Regions from separate parts of the Homo sapiens genome. Here all the other regions are linked to region 4. The links are contacts of gene promoters, found by promoter capture Hi-C in human tissues and cell types (Jung and others, 2019). All regions are on one chromosome and are shown on one strand. Each heading gives the region's core, a stretch centred on a gene start or on the middle of the fragment in contact. The rest is flanking DNA. Distances are from core to core; before and after follow the strand shown.

Evidence for each region. The method cuts DNA at HindIII sites, captures the fragments that hold promoters and counts their contacts. A contact is called where the count stands out against the background at its distance.
Region 1: a fragment that was not itself captured here is called in contact with the fragment with the promoter of ISL1 in region 4 in 1 of the 25 tissues and cell types used here (H1 embryonic stem cells).
Region 2: a fragment that was not itself captured here is called in contact with the fragment with the promoter of ISL1 in region 4 in 3 of the 25 tissues and cell types used here (H1 embryonic stem cells, mesendoderm cells and thymus).
Region 3: a fragment that was not itself captured here is called in contact with the fragment with the promoter of ISL1 in region 4 in 1 of the 25 tissues and cell types used here (spleen).
Region 5: a fragment that was not itself captured here is called in contact with the fragment with the promoter of ISL1 in region 4 in 3 of the 25 tissues and cell types used here (mesendoderm cells, small bowel and thymus).

The regions. Positions count from the first base shown.
Region 1 is chr5:51,819,534-51,823,370 of GRCh38, reverse strand. No RefSeq gene overlaps it. Among named protein-coding and RNA genes, the nearest start is that of LINC02118, 190 kb to the left of the region's middle. The HindIII fragment of the contact is 6,037 bases long and covers 1-3,837 here.
Region 2 is chr5:51,080,967-51,084,702 of GRCh38, reverse strand. No RefSeq gene overlaps it. Among named protein-coding and RNA genes, the nearest start is that of LINC02106, 110 kb to the right of the region's middle. The HindIII fragment of the contact is 3,909 bases long and covers 1-3,594 here.
Region 3 is chr5:51,667,001-51,670,807 of GRCh38, reverse strand. No RefSeq gene overlaps it. Among named protein-coding and RNA genes, the nearest start is that of ISL1, 290 kb to the right of the region's middle. The HindIII fragment of the contact is 7,640 bases long and covers 1-3,807 here.
Region 4 is chr5:51,381,692-51,385,480 of GRCh38, reverse strand. ISL1 (ISL LIM homeobox 1) reads right to left here and starts at 2,033. Exons shown (of 6, transcript NM_002202.3): 1 at 1,782-2,033; 2 at 751-940. The coding sequence starts at 1,809. It overlaps ISL1-DT (ISL1 divergent transcript), which reads left to right and starts at 2,149. Exons shown (of 2, transcript NR_046243.1): 1 at 2,149-2,507. RefSeq lists an enhancer at 1-324. The HindIII fragment of the contact is 8,696 bases long and covers 1-3,789 here.
Region 5 is chr5:50,989,712-50,993,618 of GRCh38, reverse strand. No RefSeq gene overlaps it. Among named protein-coding and RNA genes, the nearest start is that of LINC02106, 21 kb to the right of the region's middle. The HindIII fragment of the contact is 4,087 bases long and covers 190-3,907 here.

The sequences.
Region 1 (3,837 bases), core at 962-3,461, 440 kb before region 4:
GGTAAAGTGTTAGCATCTAATTAATCTGAGAATACTTCACATCAATAAGAATAAGACAGAAAGCCAGATAAAAGTTAGACAAAGGATATAAACAGAATTCACAAAAGAAAAACCCCAAATGGCCAACATACTTGGAAAAAGATCCAAGCATGTTCTTGTCTTTTTCCTTTTTTTTTTTTAGACGGAGTCTGGCTCTGTAGCCCAGGCTGGAGTGCAGTGGCGCCATCTCAGCTCACTGCAAGCTCCGCCTCCTGGGTTTCACGCCATTCTCCTGCCTCAGCCTCCCCAGGAGCTGGGACTACAGACGCCCGCCACCACGCCCGGCTAATTTTTTTGTATTTTTAGTAGAGACGGGGTTTCACTGTGTTAGCCAGGATGGTCTCGATTTCCTGACCTCATGATCCACCCGCCCGCCTCGGCCTCCCAAAGTGCTAGGATTACTGGCGTGAGCCACCGCACCCGGCCTTCTTGTTTTATACTTAAATTTTACTAAAGTTGTAAATGATTTTGAATTGATATGAATGAAAAATGCATTTTCATCCCCATCCAATTGGTTAAACAAAAAAGACATGATTGTCAATATCAAGTGTTGGTGAAAAGGTGTTGACAAGGAAGTTCTTATAAACTTTAAAGATTAGCTTGACATTAAAGTTGAAGTTACTTGTAGCCTGCAAATTGTCAATTGTATTTCAGTAGTTCATCTCACAGCTATTTTGAACACAAGGACTGGGCCAAATGTATTCACTGTAGCCTTATGTGTAACAATAAAAATTTGGAGCAACTCAAATGATCATAATCAGGGACATAAATTAACTCACTTATTAGAAAAAATTTGAATGTCTACTATTTGCCAAACTCTGTAATAGACATTCATAAACCACTGAACTACATGCAAAAATTCACAATTTCAATAAATACATTGGGTGGTACATTCGTAGACTATCATGCTATAAAATATTTTTATGCATGAACTAGATTAATACATAACAAAGTAATTAGAATTTTGAAAACAATGTTGAGTGAAAAAGTAAGTTACAGAATGTTACATATTATTTGAAATATTAAAGGAACATTTAAAGGCAAACACAACCAATATGGAACCCTATATGGTTTGTGGATATATTAATATTTAATAAATATATGTTATATTTTTGACAAACACATTTTATAATAATAATAACCTTTTGAGAGAAATGAGGGAAAGATACTGGTAAGGATGCATGGGACATATCAATTTTATCTTTAAGATTTTATGTATTCAAAATGTGTCAAAGCAATTACAAAATAATGCTACTATTTATCTAATTTATTTGTTGATGTATTCGTATGTTCTATACATTTGGCTACCATAAGAGGCATATAAAAATGAGAGGGTCATATTCAATCTCTGGGCTGGCAGAGTGGCTTTACACAGTGTCAAGAGGGTGAAGCTCTTTCTATTTAACTTCTCTGCCATTCTCGGATGCCATCTTGAGCCAAGATAAATACTTCAGTTTCCACATCATATTTGAATTCCAACCAGCAGGAGGAAGAAAGGAAAACTGAGGGAATGTTTATTCTTATTAAAAGCACAACCTAGAAAAAACACACCTCCCCTCTTGTATCTTACTTGCCAGAACTTAGGCTCATGATTACCCTAGCCATAAAAGATACTGGAAAATGTCTTTACGTGAGTGACCATGCACCTAATGTAATCATTTTGTTATTATGCAAAAGACAGAGAACAATTATTGGAGGAAAACTACCAATTTCTGCCATAGGTATTTGTAAATGATTAACTGCTGTTTTTTCATTACTTTATGTGATTCTGCTATGTAGAAAATCATACTCTTTGAAAATAAGTACAGGTGGCATCTTCCTGTCCAGTCCTTATATGTGTCTTCCCTTTACTGGTTTTATCAATTGGTTATGACTCAATTACAATGTTCAATAGGAGTAGCAGTGGTGAACAATTTGTCTTTCACCTTTCTTTCACAGCAACACTAAAATTTTACCATTGGCTTCTTTTCAAAGATTGCTCAATCTATGTGGAGAATACTTCTCAAAAAGATGGGTGAAGAGTATATGCAGAAGACCAGTTGATATGTTATTGCAGAACTCGAGGCAAGAGACAGGGTTTGGACCAGAGAGTGATTAGCAATGTGAATGGACAAAATTGCTTAGATTCCAAAAAAGAAAAAAAAAATGATCAGGGAAGAAAGGAGTGCTTGAATTCAAGTTATATTTTGAAGATAGAATCAATAGTATTTGGTGATAGATTATACTGTAATATGTATGTGAAGAATATAAGGAGAAAATAAGAATAAACAATGATTCTTTGGCTTCTGACTTGAGCGTTTGTGTAAGTTGTGATACCATTATTCAAGGTGGGAAGAACCTGGGAAGAATCAGAAAGTGGGGAGGGATGCAGGAATTAAGAATTGTGTTTTGACCTAGTTATTTAATACATTTGAAATAATTATTAGAAATTAAAATAGAGATGTCCAATCAGTATTTGGAAAATGCAGTCTGGCATTTAGGGGCAAGGTCTTGGTTAGTTACATAAATGTTCAGTTTTCAGTATATAGATGATATTTAAAGTTATATACCTGGATATATGCATCACTAGAGAGAGCATAGAGACAAGTAAAAAGTCAGAGGACTAAAATACGGGGGACCCCAGAATGTAGAGGTCCAGATATAAATGAAAGACCCAATGTGTGAAAGTAAAACTCATAGAGCTATAGTCAGGAAGGAAAAACAACAACGGAGGCAGTACTCTGAAAGCTTCATCAGAAATGGCAAATACTGCTTAAAGCATAAAATAAAACAAAAACTGAGAGTAGACTTTTGGAATGGGCTTTATGGGGGTTTTCACTACCTTTGTAAGTACGTTTTCAGTAGAATAAAGGAAATGATAGCTTGATTAGATTGAGTGGAGGAGAAAAGAGAGAAGAGTTGGAAAATGGAGACAGAATAAATTTTGGATTAGAATGAAACAGAATCAAAGAGAGTTATAGGATGAAGGCAGAGGTTGAGGTTTTCTTTTTTGTTTTAATAAAAGAGAGATTTTCAGTATGTTTCTATCATGATGGGAGTGATCCAGCACAGAAAAATTGATAGGGTAGCTGAGAAAACAGAAAAGACCAAAGTAATAATCTTCAAACGATAAGCAGGAATTAAAATCAATATTTATGGAAGGCTTGGCTTTAGAGAAAGGCAGAACAGTTTCTTTTCTTGCAGCAAGAAAGGCATGATATATGGGCACCAATACAGATTGATAGATTCAGAGATGAGAAAATGAGGACTTTCTCATCTACTTGTCTTGGTTTTTCCAGGGAAATCAGGTCCTCAGCTAAAAGGGTAGAGAAAAAGAATGTTGAGGTGTGAGAAGATAGGGGAAAGTATAAAATACCCACCAAAGACTAAGGGAGGGTGAATTGAATGTGGAAATGTGGAAGGATTACTGGACAGCCCTGGGGAATCACTTGGGTTTATGGTCATAAATATAAAAAAAGACAATGGATGGTTAAAGTTTTCCTTGGGTAGTTTCTGCTACTCCCATACAGGTATAGAACCGACTGAGTAAGAATTAATCAGGAATGAATTATTCTGATAATCAGTCAGAAGTAGAGAGGGTCAAAGGAGTAAGCGACATATGCAAGAGAATAATTATTTTCAGGAGACAATGTCATGTGTCCCTGATAACATTTTCTCTTTTTTCTCCCTAAAGGTGATATTTACCTTTTCATTTTTAGTAATCATTTCCTTGCTTTTCTTTATAGTGGTATCACCCATGGACCCTTCAACAGGATAATTTAGTTTTCCCTGTTTCTGACATTTATATAAAAAGGATTA
Region 2 (3,736 bases), core at 391-2,890, 300 kb after region 4:
AAACTCCTGACTTCCAGTGGTCCACCTGCTTCGGTCTCCCAAAGTGCCGGGATTACAAGTGTGAGCCACTGCGTCTGGCCCAATAGGTCCCATTTCTAACATAAGAGAAAACAGAAGCACCCTAAGGTTAAGTAACTTGCCTGGGGTCACACAGACAGGAAGGTGTGGATCCACAGTGGATGGTGCCAGAGCTCTTCCCACCATGCGTCCTCAGTCTAGAGAAAGCCCAGGCAAGAGCAATAAGGATAGACAATATTCGCAAAGAAAAGATACCAAAATATTAATGAAGATTGCTTCTAGGTAATGAGATCTAGACACACTAGGGGGAAAGAGGGCATCTTTCTAATTTTGACGCTATTTTATTTTATGCAATGAACAGAATTGTAAACAGTATCAAGAATAAAAACAACAGCCTGAACTTAATGATGAGATTTTACTGTTAGTCCAAACTACACCCTATTGGCTATAAAAATAAGCTTTTTTTTTTTTTTTTTTTTTTTTTTTGAGACAGAATCTCACTCTGTCACCCAGACTGGAGTGCAGTGGCGTGATTTCGGCTCACTGCAACCTCCGCCTCCCGGGTTCAAGCGATTCTCCTGCCTCAGCCTCCCAAGTAGCTGGGACTACAGGTGCACACCACCACGCCCGACTAATTTTTGTATTTTTAGTAGAGACAGAGTTTCACCACGTTGGCCAGGATGGTTTGGATCTCCTGATCTCATGATCTGCCCGCCTTGGCCTCCCAAAGTGCTGGGATTACAGGCATGAACCACTGCGCCTGGCCGCTATTTTTTAAATATGAAAGTAACACGGCAAAAACTTTAAACCATAATACTAAGAGGCAGCAATAATTTTTAGGTAGTTTTCAGACATCTGTGCATATATAAGTGATGTATGTGTGTATATATTTCTGTATCTTGATATTAAAATAACAAAAAATGTTTGAGTGTGTACAATTTCATCACTTAATTTTTCTGAGCAGCTTCACCATAGTTTCTTATATTTATATACAATGACATATTTAATTAAAGCTTTATTTCTGTACATTTACCTTTTGGTGACTTTTTTATTATTAAAAATAGTGACAATGAAATCTGTCCAATTGTATGAGTATTTTCTAGATTTGAAATTGCATTTTAAACTTGGATAGATATTGCCAAATTTATATTCATAGAGGTTGTACTGATTTCCATTCCCATTAAGACGCTACCTATTGATCCAAACTCTTGGCTAATTTATGTATTGACAACTTTTAAATTTTTGATTGTCTGATATACATAAATTTGTGTCATTTTAACTTACACTTATACAATTATGTGGGAAGTTGAACATTTTTCATGCTTTTATAAAAGCCATTGGATTTTAAGTATAGTAACAAAGATATAAATATGCTGGCCAAAAATAAGAGGGAGAAATAAACACTTCTATGAGTTAAAAGAGGCCTAAGATAAAAAGAGTGGAAAAAGAAATGGCATGAGGAAAATTAACATTAACCTTTTGATGTAGAAATAGATGGACTAGCTTCAGAGAGGAAGTACATTCCTTTTTCTGAGATAAGAAGAGGGGATGAGAAGACTGGATAGAACAAAAGAATGGCTGTGAAGTACAGAAGTAAAAAAATTGAGATAGTTGATGATAGATTACTTCAAGGTGCTCAAGGTGAGAGACAGAGATAAGGTCATTAACTTATCTAATTTCAATTTCTTTATTTTTAGTATGGATCAGATCAGATGATCCTTCCAACTCTGATTAGCCCAGTATCTGGATCGAGATAAGGCACCCATAGGAGTTTCCCAAAGTGTGTTTTGATAATTTGAACATAATAGGGTTAAAAAGAGGCAAGGTAACTGGAGTGGTGTGATAACCCTGGGAAGAGGCTGCCCACAGAGTTTCAGGTGAGAGAAGAGCCTGTGAGGACAGCAGAGGATGAATGGAGTTAGCACTGGTGAGAGCTGAGGGCAGGATACAGCAAGGGCTGAGAGCAGATGTGAGAGTAATAAAGTGGAGAGAATGATGTGTATCCTGACTCTTGGTACAGTATTCTTTCTAGAGTGACATACTATTTTTTAAGTTAATTCAAGAATTCAGAAATAGTTTGATTAAATTACACCATCAAGATATAATTGCATATTGTAAAACAGTCCCAATGTTAGGTGCAAACAGATCATGAATAATACATGATTTTTACTAAAGCAGTGAACTAAATTTTAATATAAAATTATATCTCAGAATATGTCTGTTTCTGATAATACCATGTTTCATTGAAACTAAGATGTCATTAATAGAAAAGTATATAATTACTCATCACTAAAAAAAATCTGCAATTAAACTAGCCCTCAATTTCAGAGAGCTTGCAATATTTTAAAGAATGTTAATATATGAAATATATTATATTTTATATGTATTATATATGTAAGTTCATTTAGCCATTGTCTTTAAAATAAAGCCACTGGCAAATAAATAGACCATAAAATTTTAAAAAGATATGTACATATTACTTTTATTGCTTTAGTATACAGGAATGTACATTTTAGGGTCACAAAATTAGGTTTAAAATTGTACTTTGTAAAAAAAAAAATCTGTTTACTAGTTGCTTATACCAGAAAAGGCACAAAGAATACCTAAAAGGAAGAGATTTGGAAGAACCTAGTAATAGAACAAAACTAAAAACCATCTTTGTCAACACTTTGGTCAACAAAGCAAAACAAATGCAGAGTACTTACAAAATAATAATGGGAAAAAAACACACACAAATTAGAACCCATGGGGTTTGGCCAACACTATTTTTAGAGAAAATCTATAGTCTTAAAATTCCTTGCAAGAAGAAATAAAAATAAAATGTAAGTATTCAATAGCAAGAAAAGATAAAATATATGAGAAGAACTGACTTACAGTTAAAAGCAAATTCAATAAAATGTGAAAAGAAAGCAATCCAACAGTTACTTGTTTATAGGGAAATCCGATGTAATAGAAAAGTTAATAACCACTTAATTTAAGTAAATGATGAGAAATCATCATATATGAAGTTAGAAGTATCATTGGGAAAGTAGCAAATTAAAAATGAGATACAATTGTAAGTGCAGACACAAAAACAATTAAATTAAAAGTAAGAAAATTATTTTGCACAGAGTAAAATAAAAATATACTGAAATTATAAATCTTACTCTTTAAAATGAATGATTTTCTATTAAAATATAAATGAGAAAGTAATAACAAATTAACAAACCCATTGCTATAGAAGAAACTAAGAAAATCACAAGTCACTCGCATCAGCAAAAACATTTGCCTCAGACAGTTTCACAAATCAGTTTATCAATTCTTTCAAACCTATAAAGAACATGTAGGTTATTTTAACAATTTTAGGTCATATATAGAAGAGAAAATTTCTTAGTCTTCCAAGGCCAGTGTCAAATGTAACAAAGAGAGTACAAGAATATTTATAAATATTTATAAGAATAAATATAAAATATTTAATAGTAAAACATGCACATGTGCACACATACACACACACACACACACACACACACACACACACACACACACAATTCTTGCCCAAACCCAAGGCTTAAAACCTATTCCTTAGAGGTTAATAATTACTAACAACTCCCATATCTATATAACGTACTTAAAAAAATACAAAGATTTCACTATTCATACTTTTTTTGCAACTTGGCTTTTGTTTCGTTAAACAATATATATTTGAAGCCTATCCATATTGACACAAAAATTTATGTAA
Region 3 (3,807 bases), core at 403-2,902, 290 kb before region 4:
AAGTTAGACCTAAAACCATAAAATCCCTAGAAGAAAACCTAGGCAATACCATTCAGGACATAGGCATGGGCAAAGACTGCATGACTAAAACACCAAAAGCAATGGCAACGAAAGTCAAAATTGACAAATGGGATCTAACTAAACTAAACAGCTTCTGCACAGCAAGAGAAACTACCATCAGAGTAAACAGGCAACCTACAGAATGGGAGAATATTTTTGCAATGTACTCATCTGACAAGGCTAATATCCAGAATCCACAATGAACTCAAACATATTTACAAGAAAAAAACAAACAACCCCATCAAAAAGTGGGCGAAGTATATGAACAGACACTTCTCAAAAGAAGATATTTATGCAGCCAAAAGACACATGAAAAAATGCTCATCATCACTGGCCATCAGAGAAATGCAAATCAAAACCACAATGAGATACTATCTCACACCAGTTAGGATGGCGATCATTAAAAAGTCAGGAAACAACAGGTGCTGGAGAGGATGTGGAGAAACAGGAACACTTTTACACTGTTGGTGGGACTGTAAACTAATTCAACCATTGTGGAAGTCAGTGTGGCAATTCCTCAGGGATCTAGAACTAGAAATACCATTTGACCCAGCCATCCCATTACTGGGTATATACCCAAAGGATTATAAAACATGCTGCTATAAAGACACATGCACATGTATGTTTATTGCGGCACTATTCACAATAGCAAAGACTTGGAACCAACCCAAATGTCCAATAATGATAGGCTGGATTAAGAAAATGTGGCACATATACATCATGGAATATTATGCAGTCATAAAAAATGATGAGTTCATGTCCTTTGTAGGGACATGGATGAAGCTGGAAACCATCATTCTCAGCAAACTATCACAAGGACAAAAAAACAAACACCGAATCTTCTCACTTATAGGTGGGAATTGAACAATGAGAATACATGGACACAGGAAGAGGAGCATCACACACCGGGGCCTGTTGTGGGGTGGGGGAGGGGGGAGGGATAGCATTAGGAGATATACCTAATGTTAAATGACTAGTTAATGGGTGCAGCACACCAACATGGCACAGGTATACATATGTAACAAATCTGCAAGTTGTGCGCATGTACCCTAAAACTTAAAGTATAATTTAAAAAAAAAAGAAAAAGATGTGACGTCAAAGTCATGCTCTAAGGCTGGCAGGTACTAAAGAGGGTGGGTATGCTGGTGGAAATAATCAAATGCATATAAAGAGAAATTGATGATGCAGAAGAAAGGAAATATATGAAGGAGCAAAGCTATTGGAAAGGTGAGAACAGATGGCATCTCATAACATTGCTTTGCGTAGGAGCTGATACAGGAAGTCCACCTAACCATTGTAATCGGATGAAAGGTAGAGAATCTGGCAAATTGAGGTATTGTTAGGTATCGTAGGGTTGGAAAAGTAGAGGGGGTCATTTGATTATTTCTGCTGATTCTGTGGCCCAGGAATGCAAGTTTTTGATCTATATTCAAAATAATTTCCTGGCACGCTCATCAGGTGTTAGTCATACTTCCTCTCCTCTGGGTTCAAATCCAGAAAGAATAAGAATAGGGAGCCAAATGGGAAGAGAAGTATCAGCTTTATTCTTTCAAGCAGTAAAAATTTGGTAAAGTTGTACAGTATATACAGTTAAATATTTGAATCTCAAAGAAGAGTATGAGATAGAGTTCAAGATTTTAGAGTCAGTGGTTAAAGCCTGGGATTTGAATGAGGTCATCTAGGGAGAGAATATGGTATGATAAAAGAAGAAGGCTGGAAATGAAACACCGAATAAAATGCATATTTTAAGTGCAAGCCAAAAAACAAAAAAGGCTACTAACAAGTAACCAGAACATTTAGTATCTTGGAATCCAACATTCTGAGCTATAGTGTCAAATAACAAAGAAAAAGTCAAGTGAGAAGAGATGAAGATAGGGTAATAGGAGTATCATTAGTGATCTTAACAGAGATAGTTTAGTGGAATAGATCTGAAGTTGGATTCTACTGGATTGAGTACTGAAAGGAAGAAAGGAAATGTGGTTATCCTGAGGTTGGTCTATTATTTCAAGACTCTTGACTGTAATTGGGCAGAGAGGGAAACAAGAGTAACTACGGAGAGTGGACATTTCGTTGTGCAGGTTTTGTATATTATTAATGGTAGAGACTTAGGTAAGTTTACTTACTAAGAGCAAAGTAGCAAGTAGGAGCTTATAGACAGAGAGAGAGTGAGAGGGAGAATAATCAATGAAACAAGTACCTCAGAGAATAAGAAACATGGTGGCCATAGCAAAACATGGCAGAATGAGTCTTAGACAGGTATATGTATGTAACTTGGTAAGTGTTAGTACAGGAAATAGGGAGATCTCAGCTGAAACTCTGGAATCAGTGAGGAACAGAACAAATTAAGGGAAGGGAAATAAAATTGAATGAGTTCTTTACCCCAAGTGGTTTCTCCAAGCATGATCAGAATCCAGGGTAAATAGAAAAATGAAATAAACATATGAACTTATGAAATGAGACACTAAACAGAAACGTATTTCCTGAAATTAAGGAGGTTTTCAAGAAGAAAATTCTCACTCCATTTCTGAAAATTACTCCTCCACCTCCAATTCCCCATGAAGAGATCAATGCCTAAGAGTCTCTGAGATAAATTCAGATTTTTTAAAAAAGGCATGTGCAGACAGTACAAATCACATGATTAACTAAAAGCAGACAGGAACTAATGGCTCATGTCTATACAAGTTATACCTTGAATAAGATTTTAAAAATAAGAAACAAAAGTTTTCTTTTAAAGCAATAAAAAAACACACCAAATTTGCCACACTCTCTGGTATGTCCTAAAGGGTTGATTAAGATAATGCCATCCACTAAGTATATGAAATACGGGCATCTGATAAAGGCTTTAATGAGATTCTTGTTGACAAGTTGAGGAAAGTGGACTTGATGACTATTTTATCCAGGGGAATTGGTTACTGACAGAAAGATGGCCAATTAATAGAATGATCATGGCCAGAAGGAAAGTCTTCAAGTGAAATGTTGAAGAGTGCAGTTTTCAACCTTACCTATTGCAAACATTTTATCAATGACTCAGATGTCATAATGCATGGCATGTTTATGATAGGAAGAGCAAACTAACAAAAATATGCAGGAGTGCAAGTGACTATGAAAGAAAAGACGGAGGGAAGGAGAGAACGAAAAAGGGAGGAAGGAATGAAGAAAGAAAGAGAAAATATATTCATAGATTGATATAAATATGAAATTTGCTCATCTTCAGACTTCATATCCACTGCTACCATTTTGATCATGGCCATCATAGCTGTTGTCTGAACCACAGCACTACCTTAACTACTTTCCTGCTTCTACTTTTATGGTTCCCCATTTTAGAGGAAAATAAATTCAGAAGGTAAACAGAAAAAAGAGAGTGGCACAAAAAGGACTAATGACAGTGTGGAATCATGTACAGATGATAGCCCTGAAAGCCTGACAGATGTGAGCTTGAATTTTGATTTGCCAGTTACTGTGTGACTTAGTCAATTTACTTAAACTTTCTTTGCCTCACTTTCTTTTCCGAATAAAAGACATGTTGATCACAGATATCCTGATACAGGATTCAACGAGATTATGTAAATTAAACACCCAGGTGACTTGTTTTGTTGTTGTTGTTGTTGTTTTCATGTTGTTTGTTTGATTTCAGACAGGGTCTCATTCTGCCACCCACACCATGCCACGCAGTGGCGCCATCATGGCTCACTGCAGCCTCAACCTTCTGGGCTCAAGCAATCTTCACACCTCAGCCTCCTGAGTAGC
Region 4 (3,789 bases), core at 784-3,283:
TAATGTGAGAAAGGAAGCTGTTCAATTATCTAAATATACCAATTGTTCGTAGACAGATGATGGGCAATTTGATCTGCTCTAATTCATCAGCTCAGATAAGATAAGAAAGAAGAGACAGTTAGATGTCACCAAAGGGTTAATATTTAAAAAGATTAAGTTTCCGGTGTTTTTTCCAAGGAATATTTAGGTTGGTTTTAAATTTTTCTCAGAAGGAGGTCTTACCCCAAAAATAAAAGGAGCAATACCTGTACTCGCTCTTTCAAAGTACATCTCTAAACATGCTTCGGTCAAACTTTTATTTCACCTATTGCATTGATGCCACCAAAGAATTTGTAAGCTACTAATTTTAAAAAGGACTAAAACAAACAGAACACTGCACTATACAACAAAAATCAACCCTATTTTAAAGCTAAAAATCCAAACTTCTCCATCTTTTTAAAATTTTGTTTTGTAAGGGGGAGGGTGAAAGAGGAAAATAATTTGTGCATCATAAACTCCAAGAGTAATTAAACAAGCCTCAATACCCCGGAATTATGAATACCACTGTTAAGGGTTTTTGTTTTTCTCAACTAAAGAATGAAATGAACAGCATAGCTTGATTTTTTTAACACATGTACAGGGTAACTTTGGCTTGTATGACTACACTGAGGCAAACTTCACAAAAAGACAAAGCCACACCAAATAATACATAAAGAGTGGGGAGATTCAGGGAAATCCCACAAAATTAAGAAAGAAGTGTAAATGCCATACCTGATATAATCTCTTTTACAGTAGGTTTTCCCATCCCTAACAAAGCATGTACAGCTCTCGTCCAAATACTGATTACACTCCGCACATTTCAAACATGCCGCATGCCATTCCAAATCCGGAGAAACCCTCAGAATATACTGATCGTGAATCTGATTGCCGCAACCAACACATAGGGAAATCAGACGTTTTTCTGAAATGAAAATAAATACATGATTGACTAACCGTTTACTTCCTACAGAGATAAACACACTTTTAGTGTCGTTCTCTTATAGGGCGTACTCTGGGAGGTTTTTTTCTTTCTTTCTTTCTTTCTTTTTTTTTTTTTTTAGAGCATTGCACTTTGGGATGGTAATTGAAATGTGCCATCAAAACCTTGACTCATTTTTAAAAGGAGGTGGAATATATGTAAAATGCAGATTGGAATAGTCTACATTTGTACGCCTAGCACGCAATCAAACCCGCTCATTTTGTATTTCTCCCCCCCCCCTTCCTCTTTGCTATAATCATTGGGAAAGATTATGGATAAGTCAAGTCAAAGAAAAGGTTTTGACTAGAAGCGTTAAGTGAACGCAGGGATGTCTATATTTTCCGTGAAGCGCGCTCTTAAATAGCACACAGGACTGGATATTGTTAGCAAGAGCAGGCATAAATACAGTTGTCACTCGTTCTCTTTTGCAAGTCTAATGCTAATTCACATCTCTGGGCATTGACTGTGCAGGCAGACCTTTGCAACATAATAACCTTCTCGGAGAGCTCAGGATTCCCCAGGAGGAAATCACCGCTTAGCACCAGAAAGCTAGAGCTTTGGAGGGCACACAGGCGAATTCACACACAAGGTACAATCAGTTTCCCGAAGATAAGAACCGACAGTAAGCATGCAGGCGTGGCGGCAACAAGAAAAAGCCACCTTTTCTCTTTCTCCAGGCAATGACTCCAACTCCAAAGAGCCCTTGGCACCTCAGCCTGTGCCTGAGAGAGAACCCCGCACAAGAACAGCACACCGAGCCCCACAAGGTAAAATAGCCTCTTACTTTTTGGTGGATCTCCCATGTCTCCCATATCTGTAAGAGGGAGTAATGTCCACAGTGAAATGGTGGTTGTACAGTTGGTGAACAGCCCACAGAGAGGATGCTGGAGCTGTGGCTAAGTGGGAAATATTGGCCCCTGGGGTTGCCAATGCTGAAAGAGCCGCTGCTCGGCTGCGCCGCGCCCTCGCGGATCTAGGAGTCCAATTTAAGCCGGCGGAGTTGGCGGAGCGGAGGCGCTGCGGCGGCGGCAGACTCGGCGCGGCTCGGGCACCTCTCTTCCTTATCTCTTACTCAAACTTCTCTGCTCCAACTCAGCTCCATCGCCATTGGTCTGACGCAGCGCGCGGGGACGTCAGGCGAGCGCCGCGCCCATTGGCTGCAGGGCGCGCGGCGCAGCTGTTCTGATTATCATATTTCAGCCTCGCCGCCGCTGAGCGCCACTGACCGCTCGGCGAGCCAGCGGGAGAGGATTAGGGCTCCCGAGGCAACTTGCTCGGGGCTCAGGCCGTTCTCCCCCGAAGCTCGGGCTGCCGGGCTGTTCTGGCTCTGGCCTCCCTCTCCTCCTCTTCCTCTTCCTTCTGTCCCCTCCCGCGTTCCTTCCCGGCCGCGCCGCCTGCGCCCTCGCCTCCTGTGGCGCTGCTCCTCCGCCCTGCGCTCCTGGGGTCCCCGCAGTCCGGCTGGCCGCGTTGCGCGCGGGGCTCACTTTCTGCCGCCGGTGGCGAGTGGCTGGTGGGTAGGTCTACCTGTTGACGAGGTCCCTCCCGGGCTCTAGGAAAAGGGGGGAACTTGGAGCAGGCCGTTCAGCTTGGTTTGGTCCCCACGCCGTGGTGCACATCCCCGGGGCCTGGCCTGCCTTGGCTGCTCCGGAGGGCTAGTTCCTCCAGAACTGGCTGCGCTCGGCGCGCTAGGGGAAGAAGAATCGGGAATGGGATGATTAAACCCAGAGGAACTGTTTCCTGACTGCTACACCATTACTCCGTCTCCCCCAACCTCAGATATCTAAAAACGTTGGGTGGGAGGAAAGGGGCGCTTCTTGCTGTTGGGACAATCAGGTTGGAACGCACCGGTAAACCGAAGTTGACTCCGCGGACTGACTTTTTGTCTTTCAGACCCGCGAGGTCTGCTTCTCAGTTTAACTCTAGAATTGAAGCTCACTAACCCGAAGCCAAAGAGCGAAATGATCTTTCAGTAGTCTAAAGTTTGTAAGATTTTTATATACTGTTCAATTCTTCTCACTGCTGGTCTCCTGCCCTTTGTTTTTAAGCAAACTTGTGCAACTAGCTGTGGTATTTTGGTAATTATAAGGACAAGTCTCCATGACTTTGTGGAGATTTTTTAAAAATGCATTAGTCTAAGGGCGCGAGTAGGGAGGGATTTATTACAGAACAGTGAAAGACCTATTTCACGTCCCCAGGCGTTAATATATAATTTTCTCTCGAGAAACTACTTGGAGAGAGAAGACTGTTAGGTGCAACTCGCCGGTAACCTTCTTCAATCATTCTTACATGTTCCCATCATCTGTTACGGTCTCCCAAAGACAGTCACAGGAAGGCCACGAAGAACCCCCGCGCTTCCCCCAAAGCTTCTAAAAAGCCATTTCTTATCTAATGGGGCTGCCAGTTTTATCTAAAAAGTCCTACAGACACAAACCATAGAAGGCTTAATTTCGGTGTCTTGTTGCTGTGAGAAGACCCGGTGTGTTAGGAAACTCCTTTCTTTATATCTTTCGCAAAATCTAACCCTTGATAAGAGCTGTAAATCCTGGCCGGCCGCATTGGCTGGGCTTGAACGGGTAATGCCTCTCCAAAGCGGAAAGGGAATCAAAGATGCGTAAGTTTCCTCCTGACCTAGCTGAGGCTTTCTTCCCCAGGAACTAGTTTTGATTTGTTTTTTCTCAAGGAGGATTTCAAATTGGATCTGTCTTCCCTTCCATTTTTATTATAAGTTGTTTTAGAGCGCGTGTATGAAAGCGAAAGTTGGATAGACCTAGGTTGATAAGTTTACCAGTTGT
Region 5 (3,907 bases), core at 984-3,483, 390 kb after region 4:
TTTGTGTCTATTCAAACTTTATTTAATGTCGTATCTATCCTAGACATTCCCTTTTTCTGATAATAGCCCTCCTACCTTTGTCCCTGCAGCCTAGTGCAACGTGATTTCCTGTTCTTGCTCATCTATGAGTTTATTTGCAACTTCAGGTGGGTTTTTCAGTTCTAGCTAACCAATTCTCACATGAAATTCCCTTGTTTTAAATACAGATATTGGTTTCTATTTTCTATCTGGACCCTGACTCACACAGCACCAAGCCCTTTGGTCATGAGATCCACCAGTGGAGGTGGAAAATTGAAATAGCCCCTAAGGTATTGCCATGAAGGAGTGATGGTGAGGCAAAGGGACAAGGGAAGTGATTAATGGCAAGACACTGATTACAGCAACATATCCTGCATTTTCGGTCTAATTCAGTAATACAATACTAACGCTGTGTAGAATAAGAATAGAGTCATTGGCACCAGGAAGCCACACAAAATAAATTCTACTTCATGTCTCAGTGATTTAAAACTCAGATATAAGTGATTTTTTAAACATGTGTAGAAGTGATAGTTGCTTCAGACAGTAGATACAGGGCTTATAGAATTATTTTTACATTGACCAGACTCTGAAACTTATGACACAAAAGGGTTTTCTCAGAACTGCACACACCAATATTCTTGGATTCATGAATGATAAGAAAAAAGCTCATTTTTTTCTCTTATACTTTTAGTAAAGCTGCAAGATTAGGTGACTTATTTTTATCCAACTTAACAACCCTAAAGCAGAAATTAGACATACTACTTTTGTTTTTATAAAGTATTAGGAATGTCTGGGACAATGACAACTCTAAACCTCATCACCATTTCTTTTGGCTTCTATTTTTTGTGTGATTCTGTTTGCGTGTGTGTGTGTGTGTGTGTGTGCATTTGTGTGTGATATTGCAGCTTTTTGGGCCAGTATGTTGAGTAATGAGTGAGGTAAGGTAGTATGTGTGAGATGATGAGACCAACATAATCTAGTTGGTTGTAAAATATGTAATCAGTTCAAACTGATAATATATACATATGAATGCATGCACATGAATTATCACATACATTTTGAGGGAGAAAGAAAAACTCAAAAGGAGCCAAGAAAAATTCTTCACAAGATTGTTTCCAAGAATAACAGTAGAAAAATAACAATGTCACTAGGTATTTAATATACAGCTTTTAAACGTGTAATCTAATGAACAAAAATAGAGGTGATTATTCTACTTTAGCTGTGCTAAAGAATAAGTATTTGCATCAATGTTTTCTGTATTTTTCAGAGAATAATGTAGTTTTAAGGTGCCAAAGCTAATCCTTTCACAAAACTATCTTCCAGGGAAAGGGTCAAACAATTAAATAGAGTCCTAAGTCTAACTCTGTTAGTTGCCTTTAAAGGTACCAGGTACTATTTTTTTTTTAAGTTCAATTGGCCAAAATAATGTATTTAATATAAAGTATATCTCAATAAAATGTATGTTTTTTAAAAAAGCTTTCAACACAAAGGATAAATGCTTGACATGATAGATACACCATTTATACTGATGTGATTATTATCATTGAGTGACTGCATCAAAATACCTCATGGAACCCATAAATATACACACCTACCATGTACTCAAAAAATTAAAAATTAAAAAAAATTAAAAAGCTTTCAAGACAATGAACACCTTAAACAGACTCTGTGCCTTTCAAGCCAGAGACATTTTGAGAGCTGAAGAGTCACTTGCATTTTGTTTTGTATTTATTTTCTACCATAATCCATTTCTGTCCCTTTATCCTATGATATTTATTTTTCCCACAAAAGCACATAGGGAAGTGCACAATGGTAAAATGGGTTCTTTTATTGTTTAATCTCTTTACTTCCTAACTCAACAGATAATTCATCTGTAGTAAAAGTTTACCCTGAGGTTTAAATCCATGGAAGTTACTTACATTTAGAGACACTGCAGGTGCACAACAAAGGCAACTATATCCACTCAGTGTAAACTTAATTCCTAAATGCCCTTTTCTCAGAAAGCAAAACAAAACAATGGTTCATTTCTGGTTAATTGTCGTGACAGAAATTTAACAAAGTGATGGTCTGTCCATGATTGATTATTTAGAATTCTAAATTTAGAAGCTAAGAACTGCAATCAAGTGGAAATCATTAGTAATTGCATGTATATTTGCAATTCATAAATATTTTTTAGTTTCTGAAGTCTTTCACATTGCACTGGGGAACCAGGTGTAGGCTATGTTTTTAGTTGCTTGTCTACAGATAAAGTTCAGAAATGCTATTTAAATAAGAGTTATGGTTGTTCTAGCTTGACTGCCCCTCAGATCCAGCCAGGCTAGCTGTAGGTAGAGTTAGGCAACCCCAGCCCTCACACTGCTCCCCCATCTCCCTTTTTTATGTTTTTAGTGAACAAATTCCTATCATAAAGTATTTGGGACTCAAATAAATGTCCAATCACCTCCTTGGTTTGACTGAAGCCAGGAGTTCATGGGAAAGGACTAAGGTGTGTCTATCATTGAAATCTAGACCCACACAAACATGGCTGAATGGATTTCAGAGAGGAAAACTAAGCCTCTGAGGGGGAAACCCCTGTGAGTAGTGGCAGATGGGAGCTAGACTCAGCAGGTGGGCCTGGTTGCTTGTAGAAAGGCTTTCAGGCAGTCCCTGACCACCCCGGACCCCATCTTTTTGGAGAGCCTGACACTCTGAGGAAGTCAACGGCTATGCCAAAAAGAGCCAGAATTCATCCCTAGAGGTCAATGAAGCGCTACTCTTCATCACCCCCTTTCTCCTGCCTCTCCCATCCGAAACAGAAAAAGATTTGTGCTAGTGGCCAGAAACAGAAAGACAAGCTGCAGAGACCCAGCGGCACATTGTGAAAGCTGAAGGAAGGGAGAGAAAGTACAGAGGCCACGGCCTGAGATCACACCCTGCGTGTTCTGCGCACGATTCGGAGCAAGCAACAGACTGCACAGGGCCCCACAGGCAGTGGAAAAGGCAGGTGCCTGAAAGAAATTAACAATCGGTGCACATGGCCCAAGATCAGCAACACAAAGGTGGGCATGGAATAAAGGAATGTGGCATTTCAGAAAGGGGCCCTGACACTCTGAGAGGGAAAGCCACCGTGCTAATCACCCAACCACAGGATTACACATACGCAGCCCTCACAACTGAGGGCATCTCAGAAACATTTGGGGAGAGAACCGCCTAGAAGATGTTGGATTTTCTTCCACTGATTAGATAGCGTTTCTGAGCAGAGCGATCAGTGTATTACTGAAAATGCCATCTACATTGTTCCTGTTGGTTCCTGAAGCTTGAAGCATGACAAATATGTATCTAGATAAAAACGATTGCATGCTAGTGTATCAAACAAACGATCTCAAGAGTCAGTTCATTGTTCTTTCTTGCTGTGGCCATGAGCTAAAATTAAATACAAATGTGATACTAATTTTATCACGTATTAGTTTTCTGTTTCTGTGTAAGAAGATCCTACAAACTTAGCAGCTTACAGCAACATCCATTTATTAGCTCATAGTTTTGTAGGACAGAAGTGACTGAGTTCTCTGCTCAGGGTACTGCAAGGGCTGAAGATAAGGTCTTGGTCAGCCCGGCTGTTCTCATCTGATGGCTTCAGCAAAACGTACATATCCATGCTCATTTTTGTGGTTGACAGAATTAAGTTCGTTGCAATTGTAGGACTGAGATCCCTGTTTCTTTGATGGCTGCCAAGCAGGGGCTATTCTGGACACCTAGATGCAGTCCTTGCCATGTGGCCACCCCCATCGTCAAGCCAGAAATGCTTTGGTTTCATGCTTCAAATCTCTGACGTCTCTAATCTTTGAACTCTAAATCCAGATTTAAAGAGATCATGTGATTAGGTCAGGCCCACCTGGGTAATCCCCTTATC